Regions from separate parts of the Homo sapiens genome. Here all the other regions are linked to region 1. The links are contacts of gene promoters, found by promoter capture Hi-C in blood cells and fetal thymus (Javierre and others, 2016). All regions are on one chromosome and are shown on one strand. Each heading gives the region's core, a stretch centred on a gene start or on the middle of the fragment in contact. The rest is flanking DNA. Distances are from core to core; before and after follow the strand shown.

The links. Contacts are between HindIII fragments. The CHiCAGO score rates a contact against its expected background, and 5 or more counts as called.
Region 2: a fragment that was not itself captured here is called in contact with the fragment with the promoter of NUAK1 in region 1 in 4 of 17 cell types (M1 macrophages, M2 macrophages, M0 macrophages and 1 more); the score reaches 10.1 in M1 macrophages.
Region 3: a contact is called between a fragment that was not itself captured here and the fragment with the promoter of NUAK1 in region 1, in 8 of 17 cell types (M2 macrophages, M0 macrophages, M1 macrophages and 5 more). The highest score is 39.4, in M2 macrophages.
Region 4: a contact is called between a fragment that was not itself captured here and the fragment with the promoter of NUAK1 in region 1, in 2 of 17 cell types (M2 macrophages and endothelial precursors). The highest score is 6.7, in M2 macrophages.
Region 5: a fragment that was not itself captured here is called in contact with the fragment with the promoter of NUAK1 in region 1 in 1 of 17 cell types (endothelial precursors); the score reaches 7.0 in endothelial precursors.
Region 6: a contact is called between a fragment that was not itself captured here and the fragment with the promoter of NUAK1 in region 1, in 3 of 17 cell types (M0 macrophages, endothelial precursors and M2 macrophages). The highest score is 7.9, in M0 macrophages.

What each region holds. Positions count from the first base shown.
Region 1 is chr12:106,137,383-106,140,314 of GRCh38, forward strand. NUAK1 (NUAK family kinase 1) reads right to left here and starts at 1,572. Exons shown (of 7, transcript NM_014840.3): 1 at 1,032-1,572. The coding sequence starts at 1,271. RefSeq lists enhancers at 1-502, 2,894-2,932. The HindIII fragment of the contact is 5,150 bases long and covers 1-2,932 here.
Region 2 is chr12:105,689,406-105,692,337 of GRCh38, forward strand. No RefSeq gene overlaps it. Among named protein-coding and RNA genes, the nearest start is that of CASC18, 13 kb to the right of the region's middle. The HindIII fragment of the contact is 1,556 bases long and covers 591-2,146 here.
Region 3 is chr12:105,705,986-105,708,917 of GRCh38, forward strand. The region is part of intron 1 of CASC18 (cancer susceptibility 18); the gene reads left to right. LOC105369959 (a long non-coding RNA gene) reads right to left here and starts at 2,042. Exons shown (of 3, transcript XR_945309.3): 1 at 1,965-2,042; 2 at 780-851. The HindIII fragment of the contact is 4,284 bases long and covers 1-2,932 here.
Region 4 is chr12:105,724,220-105,727,151 of GRCh38, forward strand. All of the region lies in intron 3 of CASC18 (cancer susceptibility 18), which reads left to right. Among named protein-coding and RNA genes, the nearest start is that of CASC18, 21 kb to the left of the region's middle. The HindIII fragment of the contact is 4,140 bases long and covers 1-2,932 here.
Region 5 is chr12:105,749,011-105,751,942 of GRCh38, forward strand. All of the region lies in intron 2 of LOC107984435 (a long non-coding RNA gene), which reads right to left. Among named protein-coding and RNA genes, the nearest start is that of CASC18, 46 kb to the left of the region's middle. The HindIII fragment of the contact is 513 bases long and covers 1,118-1,630 here.
Region 6 is chr12:105,769,093-105,772,024 of GRCh38, forward strand. No RefSeq gene overlaps it. Among named protein-coding and RNA genes, the nearest start is that of CASC18, 66 kb to the left of the region's middle. The HindIII fragment of the contact is 950 bases long and covers 989-1,938 here.

The sequences.
Region 1 (2,932 bases), core at 322-2,821:
TGGCCCTAAATCGATTAGAATACATCTGATCTGCTTCAAATCAAAGAACCATGTTAATTTTCTGCCACACACCACACAAAATCTTTCTGCAACAGTCAGTCACTTTGAACCCAACTCTCTAGCCACAAGCAGTGTGGATTTCAAGGGCCTGTTCTGCAGAAGTGAAAATAACAACAAACCAAGGCTGGGACAAGGCAGACAGACCCCAAGGCACTCAAAGCACTCCTTGGAGCTGTGCAAATGGTGCCAGGACCCTGGCAGGGTGTCAGCTGTCACAAGAGCAGCGGGGCCAGACCCCTTCAGCGGTTTGGTAGCCCTGCAACCAGGAGCTGAAACACAACTGAGCCTGCTGCAACTAAGCACAGCTATCTCTGTAGCTACCCATGCCCTGGACATTTCGGTCCTCCCAAAGCCATGATGCAAACTGTTAGAATCCTCAGGCTTGCAGTAGTCTTTATTTTTGCTCCCTAACCTTGTCTCAAAAACAGGCAAGAGTCGCCCTCCCTTGCAGTCACAGCAGTATCAGGGCGATGCAGAGTCTGAGTGGGAGGATGCAGAGCAAGGAGCTGCGGGCAGATGGGTGGAAGGGGGTAGGGACACCTACAAAACACCGGACTTGAGGGGCTAGCTCCTAGCTGGGAATGTGGTTCTTTGGAGAGTTGTGGAAATAAGACGTTTCGGGGCATGGTCTAAATGAGTGCCTGCGAGGGAGAGAGACCCCGGCCGTCCCAACGCTGCAAAGTGTTTGCAAATCTAAAACATTCCTTTGCTGCTAGGATTAAATTTTTAAAAACAAACCAAAAAATAAAATAAAATATGTGCAGACAGGATGTAACAAGTGTTTCAGGACAGAGACACGCCTGAGTCACGGGGTGCTGGAGAAAGAGTGAGGAGTCTGTCTCGGGGCTTCCCAATGAGCCCCCTCTCTGTCAAGAGAGCCCCAGGGCGCACAGACCCCCGCCTCGCACGCCCTCAGTCCCCGGCCGCGTCCACCCAGCGCCCCCCGCACCCTCCAGGATTGCCCCACTCACCACTCGGCCAGAAAACCTCTCGGTGGCCCGCTTGACTTTGCCGTAGGTGCCTTTGCCCAGGGTCTCCTGCAGCTCGTAGCGGTGCTTCAAGTTGTGCTTGTGGTGATGCCGCTTCACCCCGTGCGGCTTCCTGGGCTCCAGGGCTGCAGTCGCCCCCGCCACCGCCTCTCGGGGAGAGCCCGGCGCCCCCAGCCCCAAGTCGGGGCGGTCCCCCGCCACAGGCGCGGCGGCCCCTTCCATGTCCAAGCGCGGGGCGAGCCGGGCTACAGAGGGCAAGACCGGGCACAGCGCTGGGATGTCGGGGTCCCCACCGAGGGAAGCCGCTGTACGCTCAAGGTCGCCCCCGCAGCATCAGGGAGGCGGCCCGATACCGCTCGGACTGCGGCTCGGTCACTGGCGGCGGCGGGGACTGCACATCTGGCGCCCGCGGCGCGCACGGTCCGCGCACCGCCCCCCGGCCGCGGCGAGCTGTGGAGCGTCGGGCGAGGTGGCGGCGGTGGCAGGGGAGGCGGTGGTGTTTGCAGGAGGGAGGGGAGAGGGTGGCTCGCAGCGCAGGAGGGGGAGTGTTATGTGGGGCGCCGCGCCCCCCAACCCCTCCCCGGGAGGACGCGCAGACGGGGCGGGGGCGGCGCTCGCGCGGCCCCAGGGGAGGGGGAGCGAGGGGCGGTGCAGCCAGGGCTTCCCCCACCTCCCTGCAGCCACCCGGGGCCGGGGCCGCCGTGAGCTGGGAGGGGGATGGGAGCGTGTCGCGACTCGCCCTTTGTGCGGCGCGGCGTAGGCCACGGCGGCGGCGGCGGCGGCGGCCAGGAGTGCTTTGTCCTCGCTGGGCCGGAAGGGACCGGGAAATTCCAAGCCGGGCGCCCCCTCCCCGGGCGCTCTCGGGCTCGCCAGTCGCAGCTACCGCGGGCCCTCCGCCGCCTCGGGCTCCGGGGCCGGTCGCTCGGCCTGGATTCCTGCTGGCGCCGGGGCGGCGGTTGCGGCTGGCCGAGCCCCGGGGCCGGGGAAGAAAGAGCGCCGCGAGCCGGGGGCCGCCGGGACCTGCTCGCGATACGGCCGGGGCCGCCGCGGGCCTGGGCGCCCCTTCATTTTCTTGTAGGTGTCGCCGCAGCCTGGCGGCCGGAGCTGGGGGAGGGGGCAGGGAGGCCTGGTGTTCGGTTACAGGCGGTGACTCACGGACCTTGCCCGCCCGAGGCTGGCACCCCGCGGGGCAGAGCTGCGCCCGCCTGGGGCAACTCCGAGTCCAGGAGAACCCCAAGAGCGGCGCTTTGGCCCCGGCCCCCGCGCCCTCTCCGAAGAAAGGAGAGTCAGGGACGGAGGGAGGCCGGGAGGCTGAACCCCGGGCCCGCCGTCGAACCGCCGGCCCTCCGACACCATCTGGACCCCGGCGGGGACAGCCGCCTGGAAGGGGAGGAAGGCCAGGGACGTGGAAGAGATGGGGCTCTAAAGGCGCCGGGACGGAGCTGGCTCCCCAGAGGCGCCCACCCTGCCAGCGAAGGCCGCCATCGGAGGTGGGCAAACCAGGGACCTGGGGTGGACCAGGACCCCGGGCCTGCTGAGCAACCCGTTTGCTGAGCAGGAGGCGATTTGCAGGCCTCTTGCCTCCTTAGGCCTTGGGAGATTTCCTTTCACTGAAAGGGCCAGATCCTGGCGATGGTGACAGGAACGGTACCCCGCACGGTAAGGGTCAGGCAGGAAGGGCCTCCCACCGCGGCGTGGCTGCCGCCGTTCTAAGAAGAGACCATGAAAAATAAGGAAGAAGGCTAGAGAAAAAGAGGTCTTAGGGAAATTTTTTTTTTTAACAAGTGGTGCAATGTACCAGACTAGGGTGGGAAGAGTGAAGGCTGAAGAAGGTCTGGTGTTCTGCAGATCGCATGGCGGTTCTTTTCCACCAGTGGACCTCA
Region 2 (2,932 bases), core at 119-2,618, 450 kb before region 1:
GAAGAACACTAGAGAGAGCTTCTAGCATGGTTTCTCAGAGTCAATATACACTGACTCCTCAAAAACCTGTCTTCTTGTGCTGGAAATGCCTTTCCTTCTTTGTCTCATCCAACGACAAAGTGGCCTTGGATCTAACTATTACTGAGGACTTCTTCTGTGCCCAGATCATGCCAGGACTCTGAGTCTTAGTCTCCTTTTTGCATATCTGGGACGTGCTTTTGATACCTACTGCCTACAAGGAGCTGTTGGATAATAAAGCAAGTGCCAGAAGACTCCAGTTGAACCCTGAATTTATCACTTACTTGCTACTTGAACATGTTGAGACTGAATTTGCTCATTCCCCTATGGATATCACAATACCTCCTATACTTCCCAGAGTTATTGTAGGGATCTAATAACATAATGAAATATAAATGTTAAAACACTAGAGTAAGGTCAGATATGGTTGTTATTGTAGAATCCGAGAGGAATCTCTATTCCAACAAGAAAATTGTGTAGACACTGCTCATTGTCACCCAATATCTATTCTTTCTGTGTCTCTAAATAACATACGTCTTATATTTGAGTCAGTTTACCCAGAGTAACATTAAAGCTTCCAATCTCTCTTCTAACTAAGCATGACCAATGGGACTTAAGCAGAAGAGATGTGTGCAACATCTCACAAGTATTCCTCAAAATGAAAGAATATTACCTTCTCCTTCCTTTTTCTTTTTTCATTTTGAATGGAATTTGGACAAAACCACCGGTGCTACAGCAGTCATCTAGAATAAGGAAGATGAGAGCCATACTGTAAGAATCTCAGAGTGAGTGGAAAAAGCCTAGGTTCCTGATAGGTTCATGAAATTATAACACTAGACTTGTATGGTTGATCTGGAATGTTTGCATGAGGAAATAAACCCTGCATGTTCAAACTACTAGGTTGGGTTTTCTCTTTCTTATAATTAAACCCAATCTAAACAATACAAATGCACACTCCAGTAAAAAGTATGGGTTTCAAATCAATTGCCTGTGATAGAAATGAACATTATTAGCATCTTAACAGCCCTGGCAAGATTCATATCCTGATGAAAATTCTTATTCTCATGGGAGCTTTACCTGCCAGAACTCACAAACTCTTTTTGCTAAAAAAAAAAAATACTTTTATGGATTCTGGGATACAAGTGCAGTTGTGTTACATGGATATATTGTCTAGTGGTGAAGTCTGGGCTTTTAGTGTAACCCAAATAGTGTACACTGTACCCAATAGGTAGTATTTCATTCCTCATCCCCCTTCCACTTTCCCATCTTTTGCAGTCTTCAGTGTGTATTGTTTCACTCTGTATGTCTGTGTTTACTCATTATTTAGCTTGCATTTGTAAATGAGAGCATGCAATTTTTGACTTTCTGTTTCTGAGTCATGTCACTAAGGATAATGGCCTCCAGTTTCATCCATGTTGCTGCGAAAGACATGATTTCATTTATTTATTTATTTATTTTTTGAGATGGAGTCTCTCTCTGTCACCAGGCTGGAGTGCAGTGGTGTAATCTCGGCTCACTGCAACCTCTGCCTCCCGGGTTCAAGTGATTCTCCTGCCTCAGCCTCCTGAGTAGCTGGGACTACAGGCGCCCGCCACCATGCCCAGCTAATTTTTGTACTTTCAGTAGAGATGGGGTTTCACCATGTTGGCCAGGATGGTCTCAATCTCTTGACCTCATGATCCACCCGTCTCAGCCTCCCAAAGTGCTGGGATTACAGGCATGAGCCACCACCCAGCCAATTTCATTCATTTTTATGGCTGAGTAGTATTCCATGGTGTGTGTGTGTGTGTGTGTGTGTGTGTGTGTGTGTGTGTGTATGATATAAGATATATTATATATATATATATCATACACACACACACATATATGTATGTCTCACAGTTTTTTATCCAATCATCCATTGATAAACACTTAGGTTGATTCCAGGATTTTGCCATTGTGACTAGTGCTGTCATAAATGTATGAGTGCAGGTGTCTTTTCTGATAAAACGATTTCTTTTCCTTTGGGTAGATACCCAGTAGCAGGATTGATGGATTGAAGAGTAGTTCTATTTTTAGTTCTTAGACAAATTTCCATATTGTTTTTTATAGATGTTGTACTAATTTACACTTCCACCACCAATGCATAAGCTTCCTTTTTCCCCTTGCCAACATCTGTTGCTTTTGGACTTTTTACTAATAGCCATCCTGACTGGTGTGAGATGGTTTCTCATTGTAATTTTGATTTGCATTTCTTTGATGATTAGTGATGTTGAGCATTTTTCATTTGTTTGCTGGCCACTTGTATGTCTTCTTTTGAAAAGTCTCTGTTCATGTTCTTCGCCCACTTTTTAATGGGGTTATTTGTTGTTGTTGTTGTTTTTCTTGTTGAGTTGTTTGAGTTCCTCGTGGATTCTGGATATTATCCCTTGCAAAACTGCACATATTTTCTCACATTCTGTAGGTTGTCTGTTTACTCTGTTGATTATTTCTTTTGCTTTGCAAAAGCTTTTTAGTTTAATTAAGTCCCATTTGTCTCATTTTGATCGTCTTGCATTCCTTTTGAGGACTTAGTAATAAATTCTTAGTAATAAATTCTGGACATTCTTCAGTGTCCAGAAGAATTTTTCCTGGGTTTTCTTCTAGGGTTTTTATAGTTTCAGGCCTTATGTTTAATTCTTTAATCTATCTTGACTTATTTTTGGCATATGGTGACAGATAGGGGCCCAGTTTCATTCTTTAGCATATGGTTCTTCAATTTTCCCAGCACCATTTATTGAATAAGGTGTTTTTTCCGATTTTATATTTTTGTCAACTTTTTCAAAGATTGGTTGGTTGTAGATATGTGGCTTTATTTCTGGGTTCTCTATTCTGTTCCATTGATCTATGTGTCTATTTTTATGCTAGTACCATGCTGTTTTGATTACCATAGCTT
Region 3 (2,932 bases), core at 110-2,609, 430 kb before region 1:
AATTCCCAACTGTGCTTGCATGCCTGCTGTGCCCAGCGTGTGAGTGTGAGTGTATGTGTGTGTGTATGTGTGTGTGTGATGCACGCATGGAGGGGTTAGGGAGGATGCAGGAATAGAAGTTGATGAGGGACAAAGGGGAGGGAAAATTAAAATGATGAGCTTCAGAAGTCACCTTCTTTACAATTTGAGAGGCAATGTTCTGCTCCTATCTCTTGAAATGTCCTCTATCTCTTCCTTTCAAGGGAAAAAACACCAGTTCCCACCCAAGAGTTCTCCAGGACAAGGGAGGCCCTGGAGAAATGCAGTCAGAGGCAAATGGGAACAGATAGCTGCTTGTCAGCGCAGGTGCATCTCTTCCAGTCCACTTTGGCTGAGACTAACCTGACCTTGCTGAGCCCTGGCCTTGCCGTCAGCTTGCGCTGACAACAGGAGACCAGGCCACACTCTCCTAGCAGCTGCCCAGGCGAGGCTCATGCCCCAGAAAAAGCAGCTCCAGTTACACATTAGTCACAGAAATAACAATGATCAAAGGGAGCCAAAGGCATGAAATGGCTTCATTTTCCCAATTTAATTATGGGACTGGAGGATCCATTTCAATCTGGAAGGAGCCTGATTTCAACTTGTTATAAAATGGTTGGATAAAGTGCTGTATATTATTTTTTGTTTCTACCCTCATCCCTCCTCCCCATCTGCAATACAAGTTTTCATAGGCTTTTGAGTCCTTTTCAGCCCCTCCCTGTAGACGCACGATAAGAAACATAAATATGCCCCTTTCTTACTTGAGTCCTACTCGTGATGCTGATGCGCCCAATTAGAGTCTGTAGTTAAGGCCCCTGGGATTGTTCTGGGCCCTGGAAAAGAATGGCAGCAGGTGAGTGATGAGAGGTCCTCCCCCTCAGGGCAAGTGCAATGGCCTCATTGAGAAAGTATTCAGCCATCTGTAAAAAGGGGCCTATGGCAGTGGGGTCAGATGACAATGCCCCACATGCTTTAGTGGTTAAGATGCTTCAGTGCTCAGATGCTTTAGTGGCTACAAGTTTTTTACTGGGCTGAGAAAGATGTGGATCAAAGCTGTGTTCCAGGTACATGTGATGGGCTTTCTATCCCCTGCCACACACACCCACACACATGCACACACGTGCACACACACATATACACGTGGACCCTCTTGCCCCAAAGCCAGGCCTTGAGCTTTGAAAGGCTAGAGGCAAGAATTAGACCGGGGATGTGTATTTCTGTCCTTAGAAGTTGGCTGGCTGTTTTATACTTACTAAATGACAAAGTGTGATGAAATTGTTGCCTAGTAAGGACAAAGCCACAAGGTTTTTTTTTGTTTTGTTTTGTTTTGCAGAGGGGAGGGGAAGGGCAATGATGAGACAATTCTTTTTGGGTCAACCATCGTACATAGCACATAGAAGATTTGACTGGGACCACATAGTGAATGGCGTCCTTTAGAGCTTACATGGGCGCACAGAATCAGGCAGGGGCTAGAAGTCAGGGGTGCAGTTTCTAGACCAGCTCTGCCGCTGACTTGCCCTGTAAATTTGGGAGGGACTCCTCTCCACTCCGGGGTTCATGTTCTTCCTCTGGACTGGGCGATTTCTCTCTCTGCACCTTTTCGCTCCAAGGATCTACTAGTCCATGTCTCTCTGATGCTTAAACATCTGTGTGCAGCATTTTTAGGAGGCCTCTTTCCTCTGCAAAATAAGAGGCCTCTGCTCTTACATTACTTTGGGATATGTTTGGAATTTTACTTATTCTCCACAAGATTTAACTGTAGTACAAGGTGAGTCTTTTTCCTACTTCCCGGGAATTAACCTATGGCATAAATTACAGGCAGGAAATAGATGGAGCAGATAAACATGGAAGGCTTGCTTTCTTTTCCTCTTCGTCTTTCCTTGAACTTTTTTGCACATCCATATTAAAACCCGTTTCTGGCTTTCTCCCTTCACACTCCTACTTACGGGGTTTACAGAACGAGGATCTCTCGGCAAGATCAAACTTGGTCTCCCCTCATATAAAATTTGACTGAGCTCCTCCTCGTGAAATGGATTCACCTTTTGTACTGGGAAAAAAAAAAGGTTTTTAAAGTAGTTAAAGTAAAAAAAAAAAATAAGGACGGAATCTGCACGAGGCAAAATTACATTGATATCTTCTCTTAAACAAAGAGGATAGATTTCTTTACAAATTCTGTATGTCCAGATACCATTTAGAAGCAAACTCTGATTTCACATTGAGGCTGAAAATGTGTATACTCAAAGCTGATAAGAAGCCACACATAGAGTAATTTATGTCTTATATTTTATGTGATATACTTGACAACATAAATAATCACATAGGAAGGCCTCTGTTTAGCATTGGCAAATAAGAACACAGACTATTTATGTATGGGTGAAAGAGAGTGGAAAGAATTTTAACCTTGAAACTCCTTGTCTATTGACTATTTAGGATCCTAGTCTTTTTTTTTTTTTTTTTTGGAGATGGAATCTCACTCTGTTGCCCAGGTAGGAGTGCAGTGACGTGATCTTGGCTCACTGCAACCTCCACCACCTAGGTTCGAGTGATTCTCCTACCTCAGCCTCCCAATTCGCTGGGACTACAGGCATGCACCACCATGCTGGCTAATTTTTGTATTTTTAGCAGAGAGGGGGTTTCACCGTATTGGCCCGGCTGGTCTCAAACTCCTGACCTCAGGTGATCTGCCCGCCTCGGCCTCCCAAAATGCTGGGATTACAGGTGCCAGCCACCACATTCAGCCTGGATCCTAATCTTGAAGCTGGATATACAAGGAATTTTGTCCTCGTCACATTTAATATTTATTAATTTTTTAAAAAAGGGCAGCAGAATAGAAAATGGGGTTTTAATTTTGTAATATCTAGATTCACTTCTGGTTTAATAGGGTGGCACTTTTAGTGGGCATTAGAATCTCTGG
Region 4 (2,932 bases), core at 323-2,822, 410 kb before region 1:
ATGAACATCTGAAGGTCAGTTATATTACTTGTCAACACCTAGGCTATTATGTGTTTTGAAATTTTTAGAATAGAAACATAAACCAACAGCATTTTCACTTAATTTTTAAACAAATCTTGATGATATGATTGTTTAGCACTTGAATATCTCTAAAACAAGGTCAGAATAATGCTTTTCGATACAAAATTGGCGAATTAGTTAAGTCAGTGAAGAGACAAAAGTTCTTGAAGTATCATCCAAATTCATATTTAGCCATACTCTGGTTAAGATGATTATAATAAAAAATACTATGCCCTCAAGTTAATGAAAAATACTATGCCCTGAGAGAAATCGGAGCCTTTGACAAGACTCCTTTATTCAGTGACACTTTTGGACTTATTACTGGTAGTGCACAAGGGAAAGAAGTTGCTATGGCTTCATTGTTAGATGAATCTATTGATATGCAGAGTGTGAACCAGCTCCTAGCCTTTATGCAGGACACGTATGAGGGGAAAGTGCAAGAGAACATCTTGTTTCATTTAATTACTTAAAGCCCCTGTCACAGGAGAGGGCATTTCCATGCAGTTAACAGTTATTCTGTGATTCATGCGCTGGCTGCAAGAGGTGGCTAGACTCAGTAGTGAAGCATATCTACACAAATAAAAGAGCTGCACTGAATGCCAGGTCACACACTGCTTAATCCAAAGAGAACTGGCAGACACAACTCCAAGGAACACTATTGGCTTTGTGCTCCAGGGAAATACAACGTCTGTATGACCACTCAAAGTTATACAACAAGGTGGCCCCGACTCTGCCTCCTGCTCTTGATTCAGGGTTGAAAGAATTGGTGAAAATCACAAGTCCCAACAATTCCATCTAATGAGTATATGTCTTTTCTAGCTCTTTGTTATTAACTAAGCAGTGAGTAATAAATAACATTTTGCTTTCTGGCACTAGAGTATGCTAGCTTTTGAGGGAGAATGTGTTCTTACAATTTTTTTTTTTCAAATGAAGGATGAGGGAAAAAAACCCACATTTTTCTATGACATTATAATACCTTCTAAAAAATTCATTTTAAGTGGTTTGCTCAAGCAGACTGTCTCAATATACATACTCCAGTTTCAAAATGCTATGACTATAAATGTCAAGAATTAGATAAGATATTAGGATTACTTAAGAAAACCAAAGTGGAACAAACACTTCCATTACTGGGAATTTGATTCATTTCCAATGCTTGCTAATTTTCTTTGCTTGTTGAAAATAATCACTGATGCTATATTATTGGCCGTGTTTTAAAACCACATCCAAATGCTCCAACATGCCATGAAGAAATACTTTTGGGAACAGAAGGCAACAAATGGATCTATTAGGAATTCACTGACCATCATCTCCCAAGTTGAAAAGTATAGTTTCTAGCTTTTGGATAAGATTTGTTTAACAACTAGATATCCAAACTATTATGTGCCTGTTGCCATCCCCAACCACTTTCCTCTATGCTCAAACATGTTAAACATGTATAAATACAGGTACATATGTTCTTGCTTTGCTCATTTTTTTCTTAACAAAAGAAGATATTATACCATGCATTTTACTCTGCAACTTGCTTTTTAATCGCTCCAAATTATAGCATGGGTAACTCTCCACACCAGTAGATTAAAAAATGTATTTAGAACAATCTAATGTTGTAAATGAAATAATGTAATCAAAAAGAGACCAGCTGAATGTGGGAGTTATCTCAAATGGAGAACAATTGCAAATGAATCCCTCATTAATATGACAAAACCCTGTTATCAAGCCTGAAATTTTATGTTAACAGCTCATCATTTAAAAACTACGATATGTCGGCCGGGCGCAGTGGCTCACGCCTGTAATCCCAGCACTTTGGGAGGCTGAGGCGGGAGGATCACAAGGTCAGGAGATCAAGACCATCCTGGCTAACACGGTGAAACCCCGTCTCTGCTAAAAATACAGAAACAAAATTAGCCGGGCATGGTGGCGGGCACCTGTAGTCCCAGCTACTTGGGAGGCTGAGACGGGAGAATGGCGTGAACTCGGGAGGTGGAGCTGGCAGTGAGCCGAGATTGCGCCACTACACTCCAGCCTTGGCGACAGAGTGAGACTCCGTCTCAAAAAAAAAAAAAAACAAAAAAACAAAAAAAAAAAAACCCAAAACTACGGTGTGTCTTTTGAACAGTTATTGAGGCATAATTGACATATAATAAACTGCAAATATTTAAAGTATATAATTTGATAAGTTTGGGCATAGAAATATACCTGTGAAGCCATTGCTACAATCAAGATAATGAACATATCTATCAACCCAAAAAATTTGCTCATGTGTAATCGTTCATGTACAAGTTCTTTCTCCAGCCCCACTTGGTTTCTCATCTCTAGCAAGCTACTGATTTTCTTTCTGTCATTATAGATTACTTTGCATTTTCTAGATTTTTATGTAAATAAAATCATAGCATGTACTCTTTTTTGGTTTGGATTTTCTCCAGTGTAACTATTTTGTATTGTATGTGTCCTTTTTTATTGTTAAGGAGTGTCCCTTTATATGTATATACAGTCAGCCCCCTCGGTATTGGCAGCTTCTGCATCCTTGGATTCAACCAACTGCGATAAAAAATATTCAGGAAAAAAAGAACAATAGAAAATAACAATACAGCAATGAAAAATAATGCAAATTAAAAATACCGTAAAACAACTATTTATGTAGCATTTATATTATATTAAGTATTGTAAGTAGACAGGACTTAAAGTATACGAGAGGATGCCTGTAGGTTATGTGCAAATACTAGACCATTTCATGTAAGGGACCTGAGCATCCGCAGATTTTGGTATCCGAGGGAGGTCCTGCAACCAATCCCTCATAGATACTGAGGGACTACTGTATTACAATGTATATACCCAGTTACTGATGGACATTTGAGTTACTTCCAGTTTGGGGCAA
Region 5 (2,932 bases), core at 124-2,623, 390 kb before region 1:
TCTCAGAGACTTAACCTCCGAAGCTGGCAGGCCTCAGATGGGAACAACACAGGATTCTGCGAAGGGTGAAATGTGGGCTGCTCCTGTGAGCAAGCACAGGATAGAAATGCAGCTTTTCTCTTGTTCTCAAAATGAAACACCAAGGCCCTCCCATCTGCTCTGAGTCCAGAGATGAGGCTCAAACAGTTCTCCGGAATCAAAGCCACTATCAAAGGTGAGATATCAACACAGAGTTGGAGATATGTATGGGAATGGGAGCAAGTCGTCACCACTTGGAAACACTAATAGCAGGTCCACCCTGGGGTCATTCACATCTGGCTCCCACGTTACTCTCATGACTATACAGCAGAGGTGATGTGATTCATGCATTTATTATGATGCCCAGGCCCTCGTGAAAAGTCTGCCAGCTGAGCAGATGGAAAGCACCAAATTCATCTCAAATTCAGAGGTGGGAAGGAGATTTAATCATAGCAGCCCTCCTCTTCTCAATAGATCCCCTTTGAGAAGGAGCAGGGAGGAGCCAGGATCTCAACATTGCAGAACTAGAAATGAGAGGGCATGGATTTCAAGAGAAGACAGAAGCCATTGAGGTAGTAAAGAAAAGTGAGCATTTATTGAGGGCCTCACATGTGCTGAGCCTTGCGCTAAGTAAGCACATCATACACATGATTGTAGTTAGTCTCTCTCCCTTTCTCTCTTTCTCTCTCTGACTCGCTCTCTCTCTCTTTCTCTCTCTCCTTCTGTCTTTCTCTTTTGCATATATTATCCAGGTTTAGAGATGGGAAAATTGAGATTTAGAAAGGATAATTTTTTTGCCCAAGATCACTTGTGCAAAAAGAGGGTAAAAGAAATGAGGTTTGACCTAGGTGTAACTTACCCTAAGTTTGTGTTCTTATCCATGGCACTTAGAAAGCCTGACTCATTAGAAAACCATGAATTGTGACCCTTCTGGTCCTCATTACCAGGTCTGGCAATAGACATTTGGGGGTAAATGTACCCCCTGTTAAGTACTAGCATGGAAGATACAAAGATAAATAAAAATGGGCCCTCCTTCCTTATTATCACTTTGATTTTTTTTCTTTCTGTGCCTTTTATCACCACATTCAATTATCCAACAAGCTTCTTTCACAAAGTCATCCAGACTTTGACCTTCCTTTTGACTTCCCGAGTCACCAGGTGATGGGTCCTCATCACGTCTCCTCTGGGAGTGTCATGGCCTCAGCCACCTGGTGACCTTTCTGCCTTCAGTTTATTGGGATAACCTTTTGAACCATAACCTCTGCAATGTCACCTGATAGGCAGAAGCTGACATCTATTCCCTCTGCTATCATTGGGACACACAGGGAGAGAGGACAGGATTGGGAAATGAGTGGCTCAGAATCTGGCCTTGCTCTGCCATTAACTGCTGGGTGACTTTGACCAAGTCACTTCTCTTTTGGGGCCTCAGGTTTTCATCTGTAAAATGGAAGAATGGGATTTAGGGGTTTGAATTTCCTGGGAGTGTTTTATGGGCCTCTTTACAGGGTTTATTCATTCATTATTCATTAAGCCCCCAATATGTGCCAAGGATTGTTCTTAGCAACAGGGATTGAGCAGTGAATAAAAACAGAAAAAGCACCTGCTTTTGCTAAGCTTACTTACTTTCTAATCAGGGAGACCAGCCAGGGTGGTGGCTCACACCTGGAATCCCAGCACTTGGGGAGGCTGAGGCAGATGGATCACTTAAGGCCAGGAATCTGAGACCAGCCTGGTCTGGCTGGTACAAAAATAGAAAAATTAGCCAGGTATAGTGGTGCATGCCCATGGTCCCAGCTACTTGGAAGGCTCAGATGGAAGGATCACCTGAGTCCAGGAGGTCAAGGCTGCAGTGAGTCGTGATCATGCCACTGCCCTCCAGCCTGGGTAACATAGTAAGATTCTGTCTCAAAAATAGACAGAATGATAGATAGATAGATAGATAGATAGATAGATAGATAGATAGATAAAGGAGACCAACAGTAACACATAATCTATTTCAGGTAATTGTCAGTGCTGAGAAGAATAACAAACTGGATAAGGACACAGGGAGACAGGGTGCTATGCTAACTAGCTGGCCAGGGAAGGACTTATGGTGGTGTGACAAAGCCAGGCCTGAAGGCGGTGAGGGGCAGAGTCATGCAGGTGGGTAGGGTGGAATTCTCCAGGTAGAAGGAACAGCCTATGCGAAGGCCATCATGGGTGTGAGCATGGCATATGTAAGTAACAAGAAAGGGGCCAGGCGTGGTGGCTCATGCCTGTAATCCCAGCGCTTTGGGAGGCCGAGGCAGGTGGATCACCTGAAGTCAGGAGTTCAAGACCAGCCTGACCAACATGGAGAAACCCTGTCTCAACTAAAAATACAAAATTAGCCGGGCATGGTGGTGCATGCCTGTAATCCCAGCTACTCATGAAGGCTGAGGCAGGAGAATCGCTTGAACGCCGGAGGCAGAGGTTGCAGTGAGCCAAGATTGTGCCATTGCACTCCAGCCTGGGCAACAAGAGCAAAACTCTGTCTCAGAAAAAAAAAAAAAGTAACAAGAAAGGGACCAGTGAGGGAAGTGGAGTCACTTACAGCATGGCAGGGAATACTGTTAGAGACTTGATGAGGCACATGGTCATAGAGAGCTTGGAAACCCTGTAGGACTATTGGAACTCACCAGAGGGTTCGAAGGAAAGGAATGACAAGACCCAACTTAACATTTAAAAATGTAGCAATCGAGTGTAGATTATCAAGAGGGAATTAGGGAGATCAGTTAGAAAACTTTTGCAAAATCCAGATCAGAGAGGGTGGTGACCTGACCAGCATAAGAACTGTGGAAGAGAAATGCTCAAATGTGGAGTCACACTGGCAGGATTTGCTGATAAATGGAATGTGGAGAGAAAAGGGAGGCAAGGCTTATGGCCTGCAAAGCTA
Region 6 (2,932 bases), core at 214-2,713, 370 kb before region 1:
TATTAGCAGTTTCTATTAGAATAAAAGGGAAGCAGTTAAGTTAATTTGCTCATAGGTAGTCATTCAACAAACTCTTTAGCATCTACTATGAGCGGAGCACTTGTAAGCATTTCAGACATTGAATTGGAATTTTGCAATAACTTAGTGAAGAAGGCGAATTACCGTGCCCAGTGTTCTGATGTGCACGCTAAAAACCAGAGACACAAAGTTAGACAGCCGAGGTCATAGATTAGCTACTGAAATAATCAGGGTTAGAATGTAGACTATTCTGTGGTGCTCTTTTAAAAAGTATTAACTTCTATAAAATGTAAAATTAATTTGTCTGCCAAGGAAATTAAAGCCAAATCAAAGAGTAAATGAGTATTCTCCCTTTTCTACCTCTCCTTCTTCTGCTACAGTTTCTAGAGTAGAAAATAAGAAATATAAAGATGAAAATTTCATACGTTTTAGGAGATTGCCTTGTAATTGAATTAAAAGTAAATTAATTGACCTGAGCCTTGCCCTTGAGGCCAAGCCACTGACTGCTCATTGAATATGCATGAGCTCACCCACTTCATCACTGCCTTGCAAGTCAGGCAAAGCCATATGACTTTTTCTGGCCAGTGGACTATAAACAAAAGTAACAGTGTATCATTTTCAGGCTGAGGTATTGAGAAGCTCCTTTATAATTCTCTGGCTCTATCTTTCCTAAACTCAGTGACCTTAGGAGCCATGTGTTAAGCTACTGGAATCACACGATAAAAGCATATTGGCTCCCTGAACCACCACCTGGGAAGGAGTTTCCCTGGAGAGTCATGAGACTTGGCAAAGAACTTTATGTGACCAAAATAAATGTTCATGTGAAAGTCACTGCAGTCTGGGAGTGTGTTACTGCAGCATAACTTAACATCACCCTGACTACTAGACTCATACCTACAATATTTTTCTCCTTCTGGTTTGGTTCTTCCCTGTCTTTTGACCCTCAGTGACTATAATTAACATATATAAAAGCTTTCAAAACCCCTCCTTAAGCTGCTTTTTGTTTCTCCTGAAACCTCCAACAATCCTGTCAGACTCTGCTATTTTCAAAGGCTGAGGCCTCAAGTCTGATTTTACATGAAAGACATGCAAGCATGACCCAAAAGATGAAAAACCTTAAGAACATCCAAGAGTCAGGGGCTTTGCTAATCACTGGGCTTTGCTAATATAAACGAATTTAGGAAAAAAGGTGATGAGCACTGAAATGATAAGCAGATGATTGTCTATCTTACTAACCCAGATAGTTGTTTTCAGGAAAATTTTAAAAGGGAAATGTTTCAGCTACTTGTATTTTGTTTTGTTTTATTTGTTTTTTTAGCCAGAACGGTGAAGGAAAAACTGAGAACCCCCCTGCATGACCATACATCTCACATTTAAATAGCAATTTAAACAGTTATTTTTGAAAACAAGATGACATGAGGTGTGATTATCACATAAGTAATGAAACTGACTTATCCCAAAAACGTATAGACAGCATGAATTTTCATAAGGAAAGTGGTCCTTTTCAGAGGCTGAGGACTTTGGTCAAAGAAGTTCTTCCAAATAGTTAGCATCTATGATAACTGCTCTCATTCCTGGATCTGTGTATTAATTGTAGCAAATTTTGGGTGGTGTCTTAGCTCAGGCTGCTGCAGCAAAATACCACACACTGGGCAACTTAAACAACACTTGTTTTTTCATAGTTCTGGAGGCTGGAAGTCCGTGATCAGGGTACTGAAAGTCCATGATCTGGAAGCCAGCATGATAAGGTTCTGGTGAGGGCTCCCTTCTTGGTTTGTAGATGGCTGCCATCATGCTGTGTACTCACATGACCCCTTCTTCGTGTGTGCATGGAGACAGAGAAAAAATAAGCTCTCTGGTGCCTCTTCTTGCAAAGGCACTAATCCCATCATAAGGATTCCACCCTTGTGACCTCATCTAAGCTTAATTACCTCCCAGAAGTCCCATCTCCAAATATCACATTTGGGGTTAGGGCTTCAACATAAGAATCATGAATTTGGGGTGGGGAGAGGGACACAGCTGAGTCCATAGCAGGTGGGAAACATGGACTTAAGGATCAGAACTGCCTCTTGCTACCAAAAGCTTCCCAAGAGCAAGTAAGCTCACTTCCGTGAGCAGACAAAGGCTCCTGAAATAACACAGGTGAAAGGTAAGTGGTTCTGAATTGGTATGATCACAGTAAAAGAGGAGATGGGTTTCAGATGGAATATTCATGGCTTGCAGACAAAGTGAAAAATGTTTAACATGACCACCCATGTTGGAAGTCTGGTGCCTGGGAGAAGGTTGGTGCCGTTTACCCAAACTGGAAAGCCAGGAGAAAGAAGCAGTTTGGGGAGAAGGAGGAAAAGGACTTTGGCAACATGCCCACCTTGGGATCATCTTGAGTTTGTGTGGGAATGTTCCAATGTAAGGGAAATATAAAAATGCCACTTATAAGGAAGACTGCATCCAGGCGTGATAATTTATGCTTGTAATCCCAACACTTTGGGAGGCTGAGGCAGGAAGATCACTTGAGCCTAGGAGTTCGAGACCAGCCTGGGCAACATAGAGAGACTTCATCTCTATTTAAAAAAAAAAAAAGAATTAAAAAAAATTAAAAAAGAAAAATATAGAGAAAAAGAAGTCTGTGTCAGCCAGGCTTGGGGAGGATGGGTAGAAATACAGTCTGCACGTGACTAATTTCATGAGTGGTCGCTTCACCACTAAGCTAAAATTCTCTATGGTGGACAAAATTCTTATACCAGCAATGATTTCTGGGCATTAAAGCTTTGTGAGACTTACAGCAACTAGACACTTGTAGGCACAGTGGGCTAATTGCCCTTCCATGGCAAAGACAGCTGAAGCAGGACTTCTTTACAGTACCACTTGGACAAACAATTACTAACGACCATAATTTTTCCACGTACACTGGGTA